Linked DNA regions of Homo sapiens: regions 2, 3, 4, 5 and 6 are each linked to region 1. The links are contacts of gene promoters, found by promoter capture Hi-C in blood cells and fetal thymus (Javierre and others, 2016). All regions are on one chromosome and are shown on one strand. The core of a region is centred on a gene start or on the middle of the fragment in contact, and the rest is flanking DNA. Distances in the headings are between cores, read along the strand shown. Region 1 holds the start of LMOD2 (leiomodin 2). Region 2 overlaps POT1 (protection of telomeres 1). Region 3 overlaps POT1 (protection of telomeres 1). Region 4 overlaps POT1 (protection of telomeres 1). Region 5 holds the start of LINC03043 (long intergenic non-protein coding RNA 3043). Region 6 has its middle 5.2 kb from the start of GPR37.

What was found. The method cuts DNA at HindIII sites, captures the fragments that hold promoters and counts their contacts. A CHiCAGO score of 5 or more calls a contact.
Region 2: a contact is called between a fragment that was not itself captured here and the fragment with the promoter of LMOD2 in region 1, in 1 of 17 cell types (total CD4 T cells). The highest score is 5.6, in total CD4 T cells.
Region 3: a fragment that was not itself captured here is called in contact with the fragment with the promoter of LMOD2 in region 1 in 9 of 17 cell types (total B cells, naive CD8 T cells, non-activated CD4 T cells and 6 more); the score reaches 8.7 in total B cells.
Region 4: a contact is called between a fragment that was not itself captured here and the fragment with the promoter of LMOD2 in region 1, in 1 of 17 cell types (M2 macrophages). The highest score is 7.0, in M2 macrophages.
Region 5: a fragment that was not itself captured here is called in contact with the fragment with the promoter of LMOD2 in region 1 in 2 of 17 cell types (M0 macrophages and M2 macrophages); the score reaches 5.6 in M0 macrophages.
Region 6: a contact is called between a fragment that was not itself captured here and the fragment with the promoter of LMOD2 in region 1, in 1 of 17 cell types (M0 macrophages). The highest score is 6.0, in M0 macrophages.

Annotation. Positions count from the first base shown.
Region 1 is chr7:123,654,480-123,657,411 of GRCh38, forward strand. LMOD2 (leiomodin 2) reads left to right here and starts at 1,387. Exons shown (of 3, transcript NM_207163.3): 1 at 1,387-1,757. The coding sequence starts at 1,485. The HindIII fragment of the contact is 9,966 bases long and covers 1-2,932 here.
Region 2 is chr7:124,886,250-124,889,181 of GRCh38, forward strand. All of the region lies in intron 6 of POT1 (protection of telomeres 1), which reads right to left. Among named protein-coding and RNA genes, the nearest start is that of POT1, 42 kb to the right of the region's middle. The HindIII fragment of the contact is 2,475 bases long and covers 313-2,787 here.
Region 3 is chr7:124,851,564-124,854,495 of GRCh38, forward strand. POT1 (protection of telomeres 1) reads right to left here. Exons shown (of 19, transcript NM_015450.3): 10 at 1,409-1,575; 11 at 309-388. Among named protein-coding and RNA genes, the nearest start is that of LINC03043, 62 kb to the left of the region's middle. The HindIII fragment of the contact is 164 bases long and covers 1,402-1,565 here.
Region 4 is chr7:124,821,275-124,824,206 of GRCh38, forward strand. It overlaps POT1 (protection of telomeres 1), which reads right to left. Exons shown (of 19, transcript NM_015450.3): 19 at 1,112-2,800. The coding sequence ends at 2,688. Among named protein-coding and RNA genes, the nearest start is that of LINC03043, 32 kb to the left of the region's middle. The HindIII fragment of the contact is 2,607 bases long and covers 265-2,871 here.
Region 5 is chr7:124,790,526-124,793,457 of GRCh38, forward strand. It overlaps LINC03043 (long intergenic non-protein coding RNA 3043), which reads right to left and starts at 285. Exons shown (of 4, transcript NR_167671.1): 1 at 19-285. The HindIII fragment of the contact is 1,001 bases long and covers 896-1,896 here.
Region 6 is chr7:124,769,556-124,772,487 of GRCh38, forward strand. No RefSeq gene overlaps it. Among named protein-coding and RNA genes, the nearest start is that of GPR37, 5.2 kb to the left of the region's middle. The HindIII fragment of the contact is 2,813 bases long and covers 1-2,788 here.

The sequences.
Region 1 (2,932 bases), core at 137-2,636:
AAAAAGTAAATTTACCATATAACCCAGTAATTCTGCTCCTACATATCTACTCAAAATAAATGAAAACCTGAGGTTACTCAAACACTTGCATGTAAATGTTCATAGAAACTTTATTCATAGATAAAAGGTAGAAACCCAAAGCTAGAAACAACCCAAATATTCACCAGCTGCTGAAGGTATAATCAGAATATCATGTACTATACATGTATTGATAAATGTATTTTTGTATGCATTAATATTTTTAATAGATTTTACATATCTATAAAATGGTGTTATATTTATGGAGTCCTATAAACTATGGATTTATTTTAACATATACACAACAATATGCTCATATATAATTTCTTTTTTTAATTTGTGCAAATGTATGGAGTACATAAGAAAATTTGTTGTATATATATAATATGTAGTGATTAAGTCATATATATAATTTCAAATTAGCATCTCTTCCATTTTCAGGCCAGATACAAATCTGGGCTCAGATTCTAGCTCTCTCACTTCTTAGCTCTGTGCTCCCATGCTAGTAACTTAACCTCTCTGAGTGTGTACTAGTTAAGTACAGGCACTAATGTACACCTTACAGGACTGTAGAATTAAAGGAGATAATGCTTAACACTGGAATGGCATAATGTCAGTCCTTAATAAATCATATCCAGTATTATTATTTGTATTTTTCGAGTTTCATTTGCAAGTCTAGATTTTTACTAGTAATCATGGTGAGTAGGAAGAAGCATTTCGTTCAGTGGAGAAAGACACCTCTCTGTACTTTCAGCTCTCCAACTTCTGACGTTTCACTTAATCTCTGAGAGCCTCAGTTGCCAACATCTATAAATGAGAATCATGTTATTCATCTCACAGTATTTATGATTAGAAAAACTTATTGAAGTGCTTTGTAAACTGCAAAGTAGGATAAAATTATGAAATACTATATTATTATGACCTTTTGTCCCCATCAATACCACCTACAGTATGTTTATAGAAGAACCAAAATAACTACCCATGGAGTATTGTGGAGACATTTCTCAACCCTAAGATTATAATGAAAGAATCTTTTCATGGCCATGGAGGTGGTGGCAAGTCATTTTCAAAATAAATTTTATTTCCCTGTTGTTTGAATACAAAGTGAGAAGAACTGTGTTACTCCTTATCTGAAACACTCTGCCTGTCCTCATGAGCTATCAGACTCAGCTAAATATGGCCCTGGCCAGTATGTTAATAATCCCCACTGGTTCTGAGACCTCCATCCACCACCGATGTGACATTCTTTGTGTTCAAATGTCTAGCTGACGTCTGATGCTTAAAACAGCCCATGCCTTCACCCCTCTCTGCATTGTCACAGCCCTGTATCACCACTCTTAAAAGGCTCCCACAGCCACTCCTAGCACCAGTTGTTGACCAGCCTGCCACTTGCCTCCCTGCCTGCTTCTGGCCGCCTTGAATGCCTGGTCCTTCAAGCTCCTTCTGGGTCTGACAAAGCAGGGACCATGTCTACCTTTGGCTACCGAAGAGGACTCAGTAAATACGAATCCATCGACGAGGATGAACTCCTCGCCTCCCTGTCAGCCGAGGAGCTGAAGGAGCTAGAGAGAGAGTTGGAAGACATTGAACCTGACCGCAACCTTCCCGTGGGGCTAAGGCAAAAGAGCCTGACAGAGAAAACCCCCACAGGGACATTCAGCAGAGAGGCACTGATGGCCTATTGGGAAAAGGAGTCCCAAAAACTCTTGGAGAAGGAGAGGCTGGGGGAATGTGGAAAGGTAGGCTCTCGGGACTTTTCCTTGGCTAACCCCACCTCCCCATCACCCCATCCCAAACCCAGACACTTGTTTTCCCTAACTTCTCAATCCTCATCACTTGAATTTTCCTATAACCCATTTATACTTGCTACTAAATCATTTTTCAGGCTGAAATAATCATGTAAATGCTATGGCCACCCAATGGATCATAATATGTAAAATTCTTAATTGGGGCTCTTTGATTGATTACAAATAGAAAGCTCAAGAGGAAAATAATTCACAATCAGTGTATGGGATTCAATATTTTGCCAAACATAAGTGTTGTTTGAGCTATATGTTGGTAATGTGGCATAATATTTGTTCCCAAGATACATGCATACGTATAAATGTATACTTTTTTTTCAGTTAAGTACATTTATTTTCTCCTATAAAGACAAAAGTGGGAACGCTGGTTGCTTTGACTGTGATAGTAGCTATGGTGAAATAGTTCTTTTCCAATACCAAGAAGTGTGGGGTGGTGGGAAGTACATGACACTGAGAGTCACAGGGCCTTGTTATGAGTCCCTGCTCTGTTCCCACATCTTTAGACCTTGAACAATCACTTTTACAGGGTTCTCTTTCCCTCTGGACATTGAGGGAGTTAGAGACAGTGTTTCTTTTGCGAATCAAGAACCCCTTTGAGATTTTGATAAGTTATGAACCTTCTTAAGAAAATAGCCCTGGGCTTGTGCAAAATACACCAACTTTTGCATAGAATTTCAAAATGATAACACATCCTGAAACCCATCTGAGGACTCAGGGGCAGCACAGCTGTATAGATGATCTCTTCGATTTCTGTCTCCTTTACGATGGTGATCCTGAGGTTAGGAAATGTGCTTATATCAGAGCTCAGGCCTATAAAGCTCTTGTGTACTGCCCAGTAAACAGTTATTTTGAATTTGCCAAATGAGTCAATACCAGAAGGAAGTCCAAAAGACTATTATTCTCTGGGAAAACAGTAATGACAATAAAGTGTCCATATAACAAAAAAAAAATTCTTCCGGAATTATGGAAGAACATAGGTCAGGAGAAACAGTTTAAAACCCTTGCACTCTGTTGGAATCATCTAAAATCAAAATGGCCTAAAGCCAATGGCAAGACTTCCACAGTACTAATCTAGGGCTGTTAGATGATCTTGATGATAGGGTTATCTTGGC
Region 2 (2,932 bases), core at 300-2,799, 1.2 Mb after region 1:
GAACTGCATAAAGGTAATTTTCCACCACATAACTAGCTATATACATCTGGATGTTATTTAGATTGTAGCCCTGTATTTGTGAAAAAGTACTGCTTTAGGTAATATTTTAAAAGGCACAGCTGTGGACTGTTCCTGTACATCTATTCTTGTACTTCTCTGTGGTAATACTAATGAAGGTTATCTTTTCCTGAACACAAATATCAGTGCTATTTCTCTAATATAACTGTAACTGAAGTTACTAGAGAGAGTTTTAAAACTTTATTGTCTGGCTAGTAGTCAAGACATCTTGCTATGTCTTAAGATTTATTTAAAAGCTTCAACGACCAGGTTCAGATAAAATTGATGACATTCATTTTAATTTAGTATCTTAGAAGAAACAAACATATTATCTTGGTAATAAAAGATGGCTCATTACTAGCCATGAATTTTTTACTACGGGACTGCAGTGATTGAAGTAAACATATCTGATAGAGATATAAGACACATATGAAAATATAATACATATTCTTGTTCCCCATGGCTTTCATTTTATATGCAAGATTTAATAACATTATCATGAGAAAACATGATTTTTCTAATAACAACTGAAAATTAATGTTGTCATCAATGTTTTAACAGAGCTATCATTTTAGTCTATATTATCATATTTTAAGTTTTTTTTAAAATGATGTATTTGCAGATCAACTTGTTAAAAAAACTTTTTAAATTATATCTTCTATAGATACATTATTAGCAACAATGTAGCTTATTCCTAAGTTTGGTGGGCCAATTAAATTCAACCAGGTAAAACTTCAAATTCGAAGAGGATCATAGTGATTACATCTTTATGGCTAACTCCCAGAAGGGGCAGCACACGTAACATTTGAAGAAAATTGATGGGGAGAGGAAACTACTAAGGGAAAAGTATGTGAGTTTATGTTGAACAGTATGATGGGGTGGGGAAATGAAGACTCTGGGAATAAGCTGAAATGAGAATATTTGAAAAATAGGTCTTCAAGCACAAATTTCTCTACTTCAACTTTAATGTTCCCCTTTCCTCTACAACAACAGATATTAAAAGGATTTTCCACAAAACATTCTTTGCAGTCTTCAGGCTTAGTATGAGGTTTATTTAAAACTTATCTCCGTATTTAATAGTCTTCGCAATGTTCATTTACACACAGACTAGTTTTTTTTACATTATACGTTAATAAAATATGCTGACCACAAGAAAAAGATTTTCCCACATCCACCTGACCAAAGAGTAGATTCCTAGTTCATTCCTCAACAATAAAATTTGTATATCTTTATTTTAAAAATGGTTTTGTAATATGAAGTCAATGAGAACATCTTTGTGTTTGCAACATGATCACAACTCCTGGCATGCAGGAGATAAAGTCTACATTTCATCAACAACATCCATGTTTCACTATTTAACATCTCTGAAATACGGCTCTATCTTAAAATTGACAGTTAAGCATAGTTTAATTAGCATTTTTCCCTTCTGAATGATACATAAAATGATAAAGCCTTTTACAGATAATGGTGTTTTAGAATAGATGAAATACAATAAACAATGTTAAATTTAGTAAAATTAAATTAAACACAGGTGAAGTGTGTGTTTCTGTTCACTTTATTACCTCACAATAAACTGAAATTCATGGCTTTTGATGTTTTCGTTTACATGTTTGTTAAAACCTTACATTATCATATAGCAATTAATAGGTTATACATTTTTACTTTACTTTTAAAACTATCCAAATATATATACACCTCTGTATCAGTTCATATATATGTATATATGTATATAAAATCATGGCCAGGGCCAGTGCCAGGAAACCTTTCCCCTGTTTTATTCCAGAACATTCAGTTTCAGGTCATACTCTTAAGTCTTTAATCCACATTGAATTGATTTTTTTGTGTAGGATCTAAGGATCCAATTTCTTTGCATGTGGATATACAGTTTTCCCAGCCCCATTTGGTGAAGAGACTATACTTTCCCCATTATATATTCTTGCACCCTTGTCGAAAATCAGTTGACCATAATAAACGTGTGGGCTTATTTCTAGGCGCTCTATTCAATTCCATTAATCAGTATGTCTGGCTTCATGGCAGTACCATACTGTCGCAATACTGTTACTTTTTAACGTATTTTGAAATTAGAAAGAGAGAAGCCTCCAGGTTTGATCTTTCTCAGGATTCTTTTGGCTATTCAGGGTCCTTTGTGTTTCCATATGAATTTGAAGATTGATTTTTATTTTTCTATAGAAAATGCTACTTGGATTTTGATAGGGAATACATTGAATCTGAGATGACTGAGTAGTATGACCATGTTAATAAAGGCATAACTCATGTAATTGTACTTTACTTTGTTGTACTTTGTAATACTGCAATTTTATAAATTAAAGGTTGTGGCAACTCTGCATTGAGCAAGTCTACTGTCACCATTTTTGCAACAGTATGTGCGTCTATGTTACATTTTGGTAATCCTCACAATACTTCAGACTTTCCCATTTTCACTGTATCTGTTATGGTGATCTGTGATCAGTGATCTTTGGCATTACTATTATAATTGTTTTGGGGTAGCACAAATCACACCCATATAAGACAGTGTACTTAACCAATAAATATGTGTATTCTAACTCCCCCATCAACCTGTCATTCCCCTCTCCCTCTCCTGAGGCTCCTTATTCTCTGAAACACAACAATATTGAAATTAGATGACTTGATAACCCTATAATGGCCTATAAGTGTTCAAGTGAGAGAGTCACATGTCTCTCACTTTAAATCAAAAGTTACAAATGATGAAGCTTAGGAAGGCATATATCCAAAGCTGAGATACACTGAAAACTAGGACTCTTGTGCCCAGTTAGCCAAGTTGTGAATACAAAGAAAAAGCTCCTGAAGGAAATTAAAGGTGCTACTTTAGTGAACACATGAATGAGAAGAAAGT
Region 3 (2,932 bases), core at 234-2,733, 1.2 Mb after region 1:
CCTTTAAAAACTGACAAGCAAAATAGTCTATGAAATCAATACAGATTTTCTTGTGAATACACACATATGATATGTATATATCATAATCAAGTAATCACTACCACCCAATTTGAAAACGTAATTATATAATTTAGGAAGAAACCATGTTTACTTTTTGGCATAGGCCACAGATAAAGATTTTAGTATGTTCCTCTACTACATGAAATTATTAATAAGAGAGACAAAGAGAAGACATTACAAAGAATTATGTTGATAAAACTATTTTATTTAGCAAGAACTAAACTGTCAATGTTAAAGATTATCCTTACTTGGAAAGCTGTCGTCAGGTTCTGATTGACAGATAACATCTGAATGCTGATTGGCTGTCAAATTTGCAGATTCTAAATCCCTATAATTGAAAGAATACAATTTCAAATTGCATAAAACAAAGTCAATATAGTAAATTTAGCTCTACCCACAAAATCCAGAAATTCATTGAAATTGTATATAAAATTTTGTATGTATATGCATTCTTCAGTAAAGGATCTATTGCTTTCATCAGATTTTCCGGGGGTTCAAATTAAAAATCTGAGTTTAGAAAGATACAAGTGAAACAGCAGAATGATGAAATAATACAAACAAAAATAAACTGGGAATTTAATGGATAGCATTCTGAGTCAGAACAATCTAACTCTAGATTCAAGAAGCTAAATATGATATTAAAAATCAGTGAAATTGATATAAAAGTAATAAAACAGAAGCTAATTTAATGTCACACTAATTCCAATGAATTAAAATGTAGACAAAAGTTATTTAAATTTAATGAACAGTATGTTTTCTCTTTGAAGATATGAAGATTTTTTAAATTTCTAGAATATTGACCAAAATGCTTCTGCACACAATACTCACTAGGAATACCTTGGGAAAAGCAGATCTAAATATATAGCAGGTCTAAGATACTATTTACTTTCTGGCACATGTAAAAATTTTAAAAAGTTTAAAAGAGAGTGATACACCAAAACATGTGTTATCTATTTAATCAGTGGCACTTCAGAAATACATTTTTTTCATGAGAGAATTAAATATTTTTGGAATCTTAGATATGTATCAAATTTTCCAAACTTTAGCTAAGGTCTAGTTTCCCCTGTTTGTTGCTGTACTTGGAGAGTGTGGTAAATGATAGAAGAGAAGCATGAGTGTAAAAGCCAGATTCAAACTGTTGGAAAACTTCAACTATAACCCTGGCTCTGCTACTACTTAGCTCTATGAGCCTATAATCATTTGATTTGTTTCATTTGGCTCATCTATTTAAAAACATGGCAAATGGCACAAAAGGCTAGGGAACTATCAGAAGCCCCAGGAACAATATTATCTTAGAAATCGGCTTAATCGATACCTTATTTACATTTTCTAAATACTAAAAGCTTACTTTTTCAGTTGATCCACATCAGAGTTACTTTCTGGCAAGACCCTGATTCCCCGACCGTAACTGGTACCTCCATGAAGATGAAACTCTAAACTTAACATTGTCTGATTCTCTGAATTCATTGATTGAAGTTTGGTATGAAGGCTATAGATTCTAAGAAAGCTTCCAACCTAAAAAATAGATCATTTGTTATTTAGAAAGTGGGGAAAAATTAAAATACTTCTGATATTTAAAACTTTAATAACCAATATGGGGCCAATGAGGGCACTGACCAGTCAGGAAATATACTAAAGTATCTGCAAAGTATGCTATACGAGTGTGGTTGAATATCAGCTGCATGGACACTACATCAAAACTAAATATATGGACATGTGCATGCATATGCGTGTGTGCACACACATACATATACACACACATTCAACTGTAAGAGATATTTCCATTTCAGATCTATTAAAATGTGAAAAAATATTGTGTCTTAGCATCAATAAAATATAATGGTTAAGAAACCCATTACCTAAACGGAATTCAAGCCCTCTATTTGACTAAGGTTTCTGAAAATGCCTTGCTTTAACTAGTTTAAGGATTAATTAAATATGATCCTGAAGATACTGTCATTACAAGAATGCTAAGAAGAAATTTTAAATATGGTACTACCGAAAAATAATAAACATCTTCCATCTTACAAGTTCTATGGAAAGAAAACTTCTGCATTTGTGCCTGTACCACCACAGTGTGAAACACTCCTTGAGTTCAAACGTAAGAGTTAACTAATTAGAGTTTTGAATTAAATGTTCTATAGTTAATCTCAGATGTTTTGCTAAACTTAGTCTACAAATGTCTTTAATTATAGACCACTGAGATTTTTCTTTTAATGGAGATTTCAAATGAGAGAGATGCAGAATGCTATTCAAAGATATTGACACCTACCTAAAAGAAGCTATATAACCTAAATCACATTTATATTTATGAAGAAAGATTTAGAAGCAAAAGGAGTTACAAACAAGGAAATTTAATTCATTTGTATAAATATAGCACTCCTGACTACTGGATGACTATAGGGATACCACTTTTTTTCCCCTACAAGTTCAGGATTGAATAACAGACATCTTACATAACAAAAAAACTATATAGGTTAAATATTCTTTATCTGAAATACTTGAAAACAGAAGTGTTTCAGATTTCAGATATTTACAGATTTTGGAATATCTGCATATATATAATGAGCTATCTTAGAGATGAGACCCAAGTCTAAAAACGAAATTCATTTATGTTTCACATATATGTTATACACATCACCTGAAAGTAATTTTCTATAATATTTTCAATAATTTTGTGCATGACACAAAATTTTTGTACACTGAATAATTGGAAAGCAAAGGGTTCACTCGCATACTGGCACTCAAAAAGATCTGCATTTAGGAGAATTCTGGACTTTTAGATTATGGAGGCTCAATCCTATAAAAGGAAACGTTTAAAAAAAAAAGATGAGTAGCAAATCAACTTTCCAATTCTGCTTATTGTAGCTTC
Region 4 (2,932 bases), core at 318-2,817, 1.2 Mb after region 1:
ATACATACACACATATGCATGCTCACATGTTCTTAGAAAGAACAATCTGAAAAATTATACACTGTATTGTTAAAAGTGGTTTCTTCCTGGGTACTAATTGGAGCAGGAATCAGTTCAAGTTTATAGACCCTATATTTGTTTCAAATTCTTACTTCTATTAAAAAAAGTCTAGATAAAAACAAAACTTGATGAAATATACGGTCAAATTTAAAACAACATTGAAAATAATCAAAAGAGTTTTTAGCCTTTCCAGATCCCAAGAAAAGCTTCTAGAAAGTATAGAAGAAAATTGTCTGGATTCAGAGTCACACGTAGTGACAAATTCATGCTTTGATATCTAAAACAGGACTGCATAGTCAGCTGGGAAGTAGGCAGGAAAAAGATTTTGGTCCTTTTCTGTTACCTCCAAGTAGCTAAGGCACAGGATCTACACCAATTTGAAATCTGGGCAGCCAGTACCCAAATGGGTGAAGAGACTTTTTTAGGTAGACAGAGGTATAGTCAGCTTCTTCTAGACCATCAACATCAGTCTTTCTATAATTATTTAGAAACAATTTCCAACTTAAAGCATGAGCAGGGGTAAAAAGAAATGAGGAATGATACATTGTATCTTGGCATGTATAGTTCCCTCAAATACAGCAGTATAATTGAAGGTGGCCACAGAAAAAGCCTGTAAGTAGTGTGTTTCTCATTGCTACATCCAGATAAAGAATAATGGACTGTCTCAGATTTTTCTAAGACATACATTCTAAGAACAATACAGGGACAGCATGAGTCAATCCAGTAGTGTCTTAAAAAATGGAAGCTGCAGAAAGTGGAAACTGAGGGTGAGTCTGTACACAAACTTCTTTCTTAAATTTGTGTAATTTAAAATCTGACAGGAAGATTCTATCAGTGTTTACAGAAAGGGGCAGGGATCAAATTGGGGCACAATGAACTACCATTTAGTTGTTGCTCCAGAAATAAAATTCTCCTCTCTGGGTTCCTGATTAGCATAAAGTGCATACATCATCTCTAGAGAAACACTAGATGTTGATGGAATAATTCTTGCTAAAAACTGAAAATTTTTTTAAAAAGACAAGGACAAAACCCCACAATAAACCAAAAGAAATCATGATAAGGTGGATGTTTATTTAAAACAAAAATAAGAAGAGACATGGCCTATCATCATGAAGATTCATAGGAAGAGTTTTCCTTTGTTAACGTGGAGATCTTGCAGGCTCACAGTGTGAACATATGGCACCTTTGGACCTCTACTCTTCTAGATTGAGGGCTTCCTGAAGGCAGAAAAAATGTTTATTTCACCTTTGTATCCTGAGCACATCATCAACACGGAAACACACCTGTTCAACTGTAGGGTTTTAAAATATTTTTCCTGAAAATGTTTTGAACCAAGAGTCTATATTCTTGAAAATAAAATCAGTCTTTCTCATTGTCTCAAACAAGCTGATAAGTCGATGATGGGGGACATTGGTAGTTAGGTAAAGAAGATGTGTTAATGTACTCAGGAACTAGAATTTAGAGTTATTATGAGCAAAGAAAGTCAGTTATCCAATCTTTTTGACAATAAGATGTTAAAAGTATTTTGAAACTATAGAAAAACACACTGACTCCTCTTATAATCTATTTCCAATGTTATTTCAGATGTTTAAGTCAAAGACTCGTTGCAGAAAACTGTTAGCTTCTGTTCCAGAATCCTTGAGTGGTTAACAGTACAGGCTCTGAATAGAGATTATGTGAATTAAGGCACAGACTCTAGCTTTTACAAACTGTGTGAACTTAGTCAAGTCAGCTTATCAATCAAGCCTCAGATTTCTTATCGGAAAAATAGGTTGCTGTGAGGATCAAATACATGTTTAGTGCTTAGCACAGTACCTGGGATGTAGACAGCCCTAAACATCTGCTGCATTGCCACACCTATTTCGATTCTTTGCCTCATATCATTTTTCAGCTCAACTTAGGGCAAATAAATGAAACAGTTGAAATGTGTGCACTTATTTATTCTTCACTAATATTAAACCAGGTAATTTATATCTGTCTTTGGCAAATAACATACACAAATCTATATATATATATATAAATGTTTGTATAAAATTGAATATTCATGATTTTAAATTTGACAAACACTGTCAGGTAAAAATCAAACTATTTTACTAAGTTAACATCTCATTCAATTAGTTGTAAGTTGTAATAGCGGCATATTTTACATGAGACTATTAGAAAAGGATAATATTAAGTCATTAACATTATAAATCTGACCACTTTTATTAGGTTGAGGTGAAATAGAGAAATCTCTACTATCCTGGAGAGAAACAAGCAATAAAACCATGTATTACAAGTTTAAAGAAATGAATTTATCCTAAAATCATCAGTATCAGCACCCCAACAAAGCAACTTTGCCATTTCTACTTAAAGTACACTGTAGCTTGATCAGACACTTATCTCAGCAGTACTTGTTTAAGCAGGTCTCTTTGTACAAAAGCAAAACAGAAAGCAAAACAAAATCCATAGCCATTATTTACCTTGCACCCAGTAAAAGCCAAGAGATTTAAGGTAAGGACATTTTCTAATCCCATACCCATGCTAACATCATCAACATTGCTGATACAAAACTCAGGTCAGGAAAAGAAGCTCAAACAGGGAAGGTGAGTGGCAACATTTTATGTATGCTAAATTGGATGGCAATATTAGATTACATCTTCTGCAACTGTGGTGTCAAAAATCTGATAGCAAATTTGATTATCTGTTCCATTTGTGACATTGTATGACTTGATGAAGCATTCCAACCACGGATATGCATCTACAAAAACAAAAACAAAAAAAGCGATTTAACCATTAAAACAAAATAAATAACTCTGAAATAGGTACCTAAGCTTACCACTGAGCTAGAAAAATTAACATTTATTTTGGCTTGAAAAGTAAGTAAACGTCC
Region 5 (2,932 bases), core at 146-2,645, 1.1 Mb after region 1:
CTTAGTTTCTGATCATACCTCCATGTTTGTCAAAGAGTAGATTTCTGCTTCATCCTGCGTGATTTCAGGAGCCTTGGTACAAACCCTTTCTGCTCCCATTACTTCCAGTAACTTTCACCATCACTCTCAGGAAGCCCTCTCTCAGAAGCGGATTTCTGCCTGCTTCACTTTAACGTCTCTCAAGTTGGATACCCAGCGTGGTCCTCCTACTGAAACAAGAGTGCCAGCTATACCAACAGAAAATCTTTTTACATGCCTATCTGATTTGGCTCAAAATGAAGGAGCAGAGAGCCCAACTCTGAAGTGAAAGCAGAAACACTGAGCAGTAAATGACAAAATTAGCTTTGCTCTCAGTGGTTTCTGACAACCCCGTGGCAGGACTGGGGTGGAAGGAGGAAGGAGATAAAGCCTAAAACCTTAATACAGCTTGGACCCCAGAGTACTAAACGATCGGAGCAAAGGTGAATGAGAAGTAAATCCTCTCCTTTAGAAAAGGATCAAAAAGAAATATGTCTGTCCAGAACTTGGTGCCTCCTTAGAGGATTTATAACCATTAGCAAGCTTTCTCGCGAGTCTTTAGTTCAAATTTTCACCATTTTTCTTGTCTGAAGAAAGTTTGAGGGGAAATTTTAAGTTAAGTTAGTCCTGGCTTTAGTTTTCTAAAAATAGAACTTCAAGATATTGAAAAGATAAACCTTAAAATGAAGAAACCCAGAGAAAGGATTATACAGCAGATTTGTATAGTTGAAAAGAGAATGATTGAATCTGCAGGGAAAAGAAATTATCCAGAATGTGAAAGCACAAGTAGGAAAAGTAAATGACAGAGTAAAAGAAATATGCAGCTATTCAAAGTTCCAGAAAGAATAGCAGAGACATTGGAAGAGATGGTGGCTAAAGCTTTTCCAGAACTGTTAAGGGACATCGGTATTTAAATTCAGGAAGCTCAATGAATCCCAAGCTGAAAACAATTAATTAACACCTAAAACCATTATAATAAAATTGCAGGGGCCCCTAAGGGCAAAGAAATTATAAGCTATAATTTTTTGCTCTCAATGATGTCACTGTCTGCAGTCGGGTAGAAGACCCTGAATTTCCTGTTTTACGGCATTTATTTTTGGAATGAGAGGCCCTCATGACTGTTGGGTCTGTTAATCCTGGTTTCCCTCTCCATCCCACTTTCATTTCCCCATAGCACTCGTTAATAGGAAGACTAACTCCTGCAAACCTATAATTTCATTCTGGCTCCAATGAAGTCCTGAAAATCCAGAATCTCAAATACAGCAGTCTATCTAAAACAGGGTGGAGACTCAACATCTCTCCTTCCCAACGCTGCTCTTTGTGATCCTCTAACTTTACTTTTCAATCGTTGGTGCTTGTCTATGTCCATTGCATATTTAGCTGACTTCTCAGCACATGCCTCATTTTTGTTTCTCTTTTGGACCCAAAGGATCATCATTTCTATGAAGCAAAAATGAGACACAAAACTGTACAGGTAGAATGACCTTTACCTCCACTCAGCACATAAAAACACACACACACACACACACAGGCACACATACTTGCACACATTTCCAAAGGGCTGTTAATGTTAGGATAGGAGAAACCACTGGTAGGACATCAGAAGAACTGGAATTTAAAGGAATAATAAAGTGATGAATCAGCAGAGGTTAACTCAGGTAAAGAGATGTCAAAGATGTAACTTGGATAAGAGCAACTACTCTACTAATGAGCTTCCATCTGGAAGATGTCAGAAGAATGTCACTGAAGGAAATTTTTCTGTTTCTTCTGAGTAACAGAGACAAGTTCTTTTAGTATGATGTCATTTAGTCTATACAACCTTCTATTCCTTCTTAACTCTCTCATGAATTGACCTCCTGGTAATTCTCATTCACTGAAAGCTTGAGGATCTGATTCGCAGTTTTCATCTCTGCCTCAATCTTCATTTTACAATTCAAAAAAAAGTGGAAATCTCATGCAGCACTACATCTACTGTTTCCTTGGCTTTCTGTCTCCAGTGATCTTAATGGTCTTCACCTCCGCTCCACTTTAGTTACAGACACTCAATACCATACCCTAGGCTTTATCATCACCTGCTGTTTCTCCACCTCTGAAATCTTAACCCGAAAGTTCACTATTTGAGTACAGATTCTTACTCTTCCAGCTACTCTTCCAGCTCTTGCATTCTGTTACTTCCATTAAACATTAATTTTTACTTCACAGCGATCTCAGTTCTTTTGAATCCACTTCTACAAAATTATTTTGATATTCACATCCTTTATAACTCAGTTTAGACCTCAATGATTCTTCTCTTGTATTCCAGGTCCTACAATCACACCTCTTAAATATTCCAGGAATCTCTACTCTTCTCTCTATTTCCATTATCACCACCCCAGTTTAGGTCACCATTACCTCTCACATAGATTACTCAGCAATATCCTCTTTGGCCTTCCTGACCCTAGTGCTTCCAAACTCCCTTTCCAACTCATTCTCTGCACTGCAGTGAGAATTATCTTTCTATAATGCAAATGTGGCCATGCCATTCCCGCTTTGAAAGCACTTTAATGACGTCTAGTTGCTTCTGGAATAAACTACATATTCCTAAATATCGCTTACACATTTTTCATGATCTGGGACCTGCTTTCCTCACAAGCCTCTCTCTTAACCTTCTCATTCTATCTCACCCCATATTTCAATAGCCTGAGATATGTTGGGTTTACTGAATTTTCCATGCCCGTTCCCACCTCTAGGCTTTTGCACATGTTTGTTCCTCTTCCTGAAGCAGGAATCTGTACTTCATCCTCTTCCTGTGTTACTCTCCCAATCCTAATCATTCCTTAAGTCTTGCCTTAAGAGAGCACATCTCCCAGGAAGCTTTCCTTCTGCTCTGAGTTACACAGCCTTCCCCATGTACCTGTACTTCCCCATCGCAATA
Region 6 (2,932 bases), core at 132-2,631, 1.1 Mb after region 1:
TATCAAATAATTTTCTTTCTTTTTTGCCTCAGATAATTCAAAAGGGTCATTTTTTCTGAAAGAAACTGTAACATACCACCAATAGATTATTATTTTCTGAAATTCAAAATTTGTCTGTTTTCCAAATAGTTTGTGGTTGCAGCCTTTCTGTCACTGAATTATTAATTGTTAGTTTGGAAGCCTCCATTGATCACCTTCATTAATCACCTCTCTCTTTTGCCATATATAAGAGCCAAATTATCATTAACGGGTGGGAAATGGCACTGCTTGGAATATAATATCAATATGGTTATGTCTACCTTAAAAATCAAATATCAAAATTAAAGTACTTAAAATTTAAAATAAAACAACAATAATCAAAATAGTCTTTTATTTATTCCAGACAAAAATGTAGACATTGGGCTACATAAAATATGTTTGAACCATACTTGGACCAGCACACTAATTGCATAGCCAAGTCCTTTGGGTTTTGTTGGATTCGGTTTGTTGTTGTTGTTGTTGTTGTTTGTAAAGAAACTTGAATGCAAAAGGGTGAAACTGAAGATGAATTAACACAAGCATAACCAAACATTCTCAACCTTTCATAATTCTTTATAGAAATAAATGCTTGTGAAATGCACCCCTACCTTTTGATCAACATCCTTTTTGAAGCAAAGATAATTTGGATACTTAGTTGGCCCTCAGCCAATAGCAATGTAGCAGGAGATCAGACCATCTCAGGCTTCAGCCTCTCATGACTTCTCAAATTGTGTATTTTCCCTAGCAAGCACATTAATTGTAAATCTTCCAAAAATCATAGTAAGCTGAACTTTTTAACAATTATCCAAAATAAATGTGATATAAAGATACATTTTATTGTATCTTTATAATACCAAAATAAATGTGATATAAAGATATACCAAAATAAATGTGATATAAAGATACATTTTACTTCCTTCTCCCAGAATTTGGGTACAAGCTGTATGCTATATCAATAAGATTCCTTCTGAGACTGTTTAAACCAAATCATCTTATTCTATATTGTTGCTCCATCTCTGACCAAGCATTATTATTTAAATTAGTTTTCTGTGTAATGTTGATACTGGATAATACACTAGAATAAATGCAAGTCAAGCCAAATTGCAGAAGTGTCAGCCTGGTTCAAATAACAAAGGCTAGCAAATTGGAATTTTTAGTATTCTGACCAGAATAATTTTTGTATACAGAGTCAGTAAGGAAGAGCATGGATTTCTATATGAAAAGTGAAAAGTTGAGATAGAAGGGATTTTAAAAGATAATACACCATTGATTTGGCTCTCCTGGCAACCTATTAAATTTTAGCTCTGGCAAAGAAATCAATTCAATGAACACGTACGTCTAAGACCTGAGTCTTGGCACATTTAGCATTATTTTCCTGATTAGTGGTTGAAATATAAATAGTACCAAAACAATATCTGCTTTGTGAGAGTTATAAAACTACCCTAAAGACTGGTCAAAAACAACAACAAATAGCTTTTCTAGTATAATCTTCCTGATTTGCTTGTTCACTTTTTAGAATCTTCTGCAGGTGATATTTTCTTTATTTGGATTGAGGTCCAGAAAGAAAGAAAAAAGTATCTCTGTGTTATATTTAGTTTTTTTAATTCACTCAGGATGTTGAGAGGGTGTGACTCAGTATTATCACAACAAATTGACCTGATAATGTAGACATTTTGAATGATCAACTTAATAGAATTTTAAGATTTGGCCCAAGGTTATGAAATTTGGATTGCCTGACATGACTAGTTTCTAGTGTTTGCATTGTCTTCCAAGGCCCCAGCTGGTCCATGGAATGCTTTTTCAAAGCTAGTTTCCTGCTTATTTCTTCATGAACTCAATATCCTTCCCTGAGCATCCCTGAGCACCAAAACAAAACTTTAGTTTTGAGTTTTAGACAGCAAGGAAACTGATTATCTCCTCTTGTGTTAAAGAGACTACACACATGTGATAACATGACTAAAGATCTTTGTGGTGGTCCAAAAGAAGCACCTCCTAGTGACTGCGAAATGTTCACAAGGGTGGTGTCTTTGGGGCCTTGTAGTATGTGGGCAGCGTCCCTTCTAAGATTTCAAGATGCTTTTCAGCTCACTAAAGAAAAGACACATTTGATCTCTGATAAGATTTTAATCAATGTAAATATTGGACTTCATAAAAGAATTGTACTTATAAGAGAATTTGACTGCTAAAAAACAATTAAAAGTCAATCATACAGTACTCCCCATTCCTTTCAGAAATAAGGAAACTGAGACCAAAGTGGGTGAGATTATTTGCCCTACATCATGTAGTGTAATAGAAATAGAACTTGGACTGAAAACCAAGGTTTTTGAGAGTGAAGGAAAGGGGCAAACCAGTCAGGAATTCTGAGAGGCTTCCTGAAGGAGGTGAATGGAGTAAGATACTGAAGTGAGTGGACAAAGAATCCATGTTGCAACAGAGTGACTGGCATCAGCAGACTGGGAGAAGAGAAAAAGGATGGTGTGTATGGAACTACAAGCAGTTCAGTGCTGCTAGGAACAATGGCTGATACTTTTTGTTCTTAAACAAGCAAACAAACAAACAAACGCTTAGTCATTATATTGTTTTTGAAGAATGTCTAATTAGGATAATACTTATTATTTGGCCACTTATTCCAAGCCTAATGATCTTCAAATATATATTAATCTCTTTATTCAGCAATATTTATTGCCTGCCTCCTATGTGCCACATACTGTGCTAGGTGGACTAGATATACAATGGTGAGAAAAGCAGTTTATGGCCCAAATCCTCAAGAAGCTTACGTGGTAATAGGCAATTTAATCATGTAAGTAGACATTTAATTAGAAGGCACCATGACAAAGTTAGCTCTTAGAATAGGGAAATATAGAGTGCTATGAAGACATAAAGAAGTATCTTATATAGCCTGGGGGAGGGGACA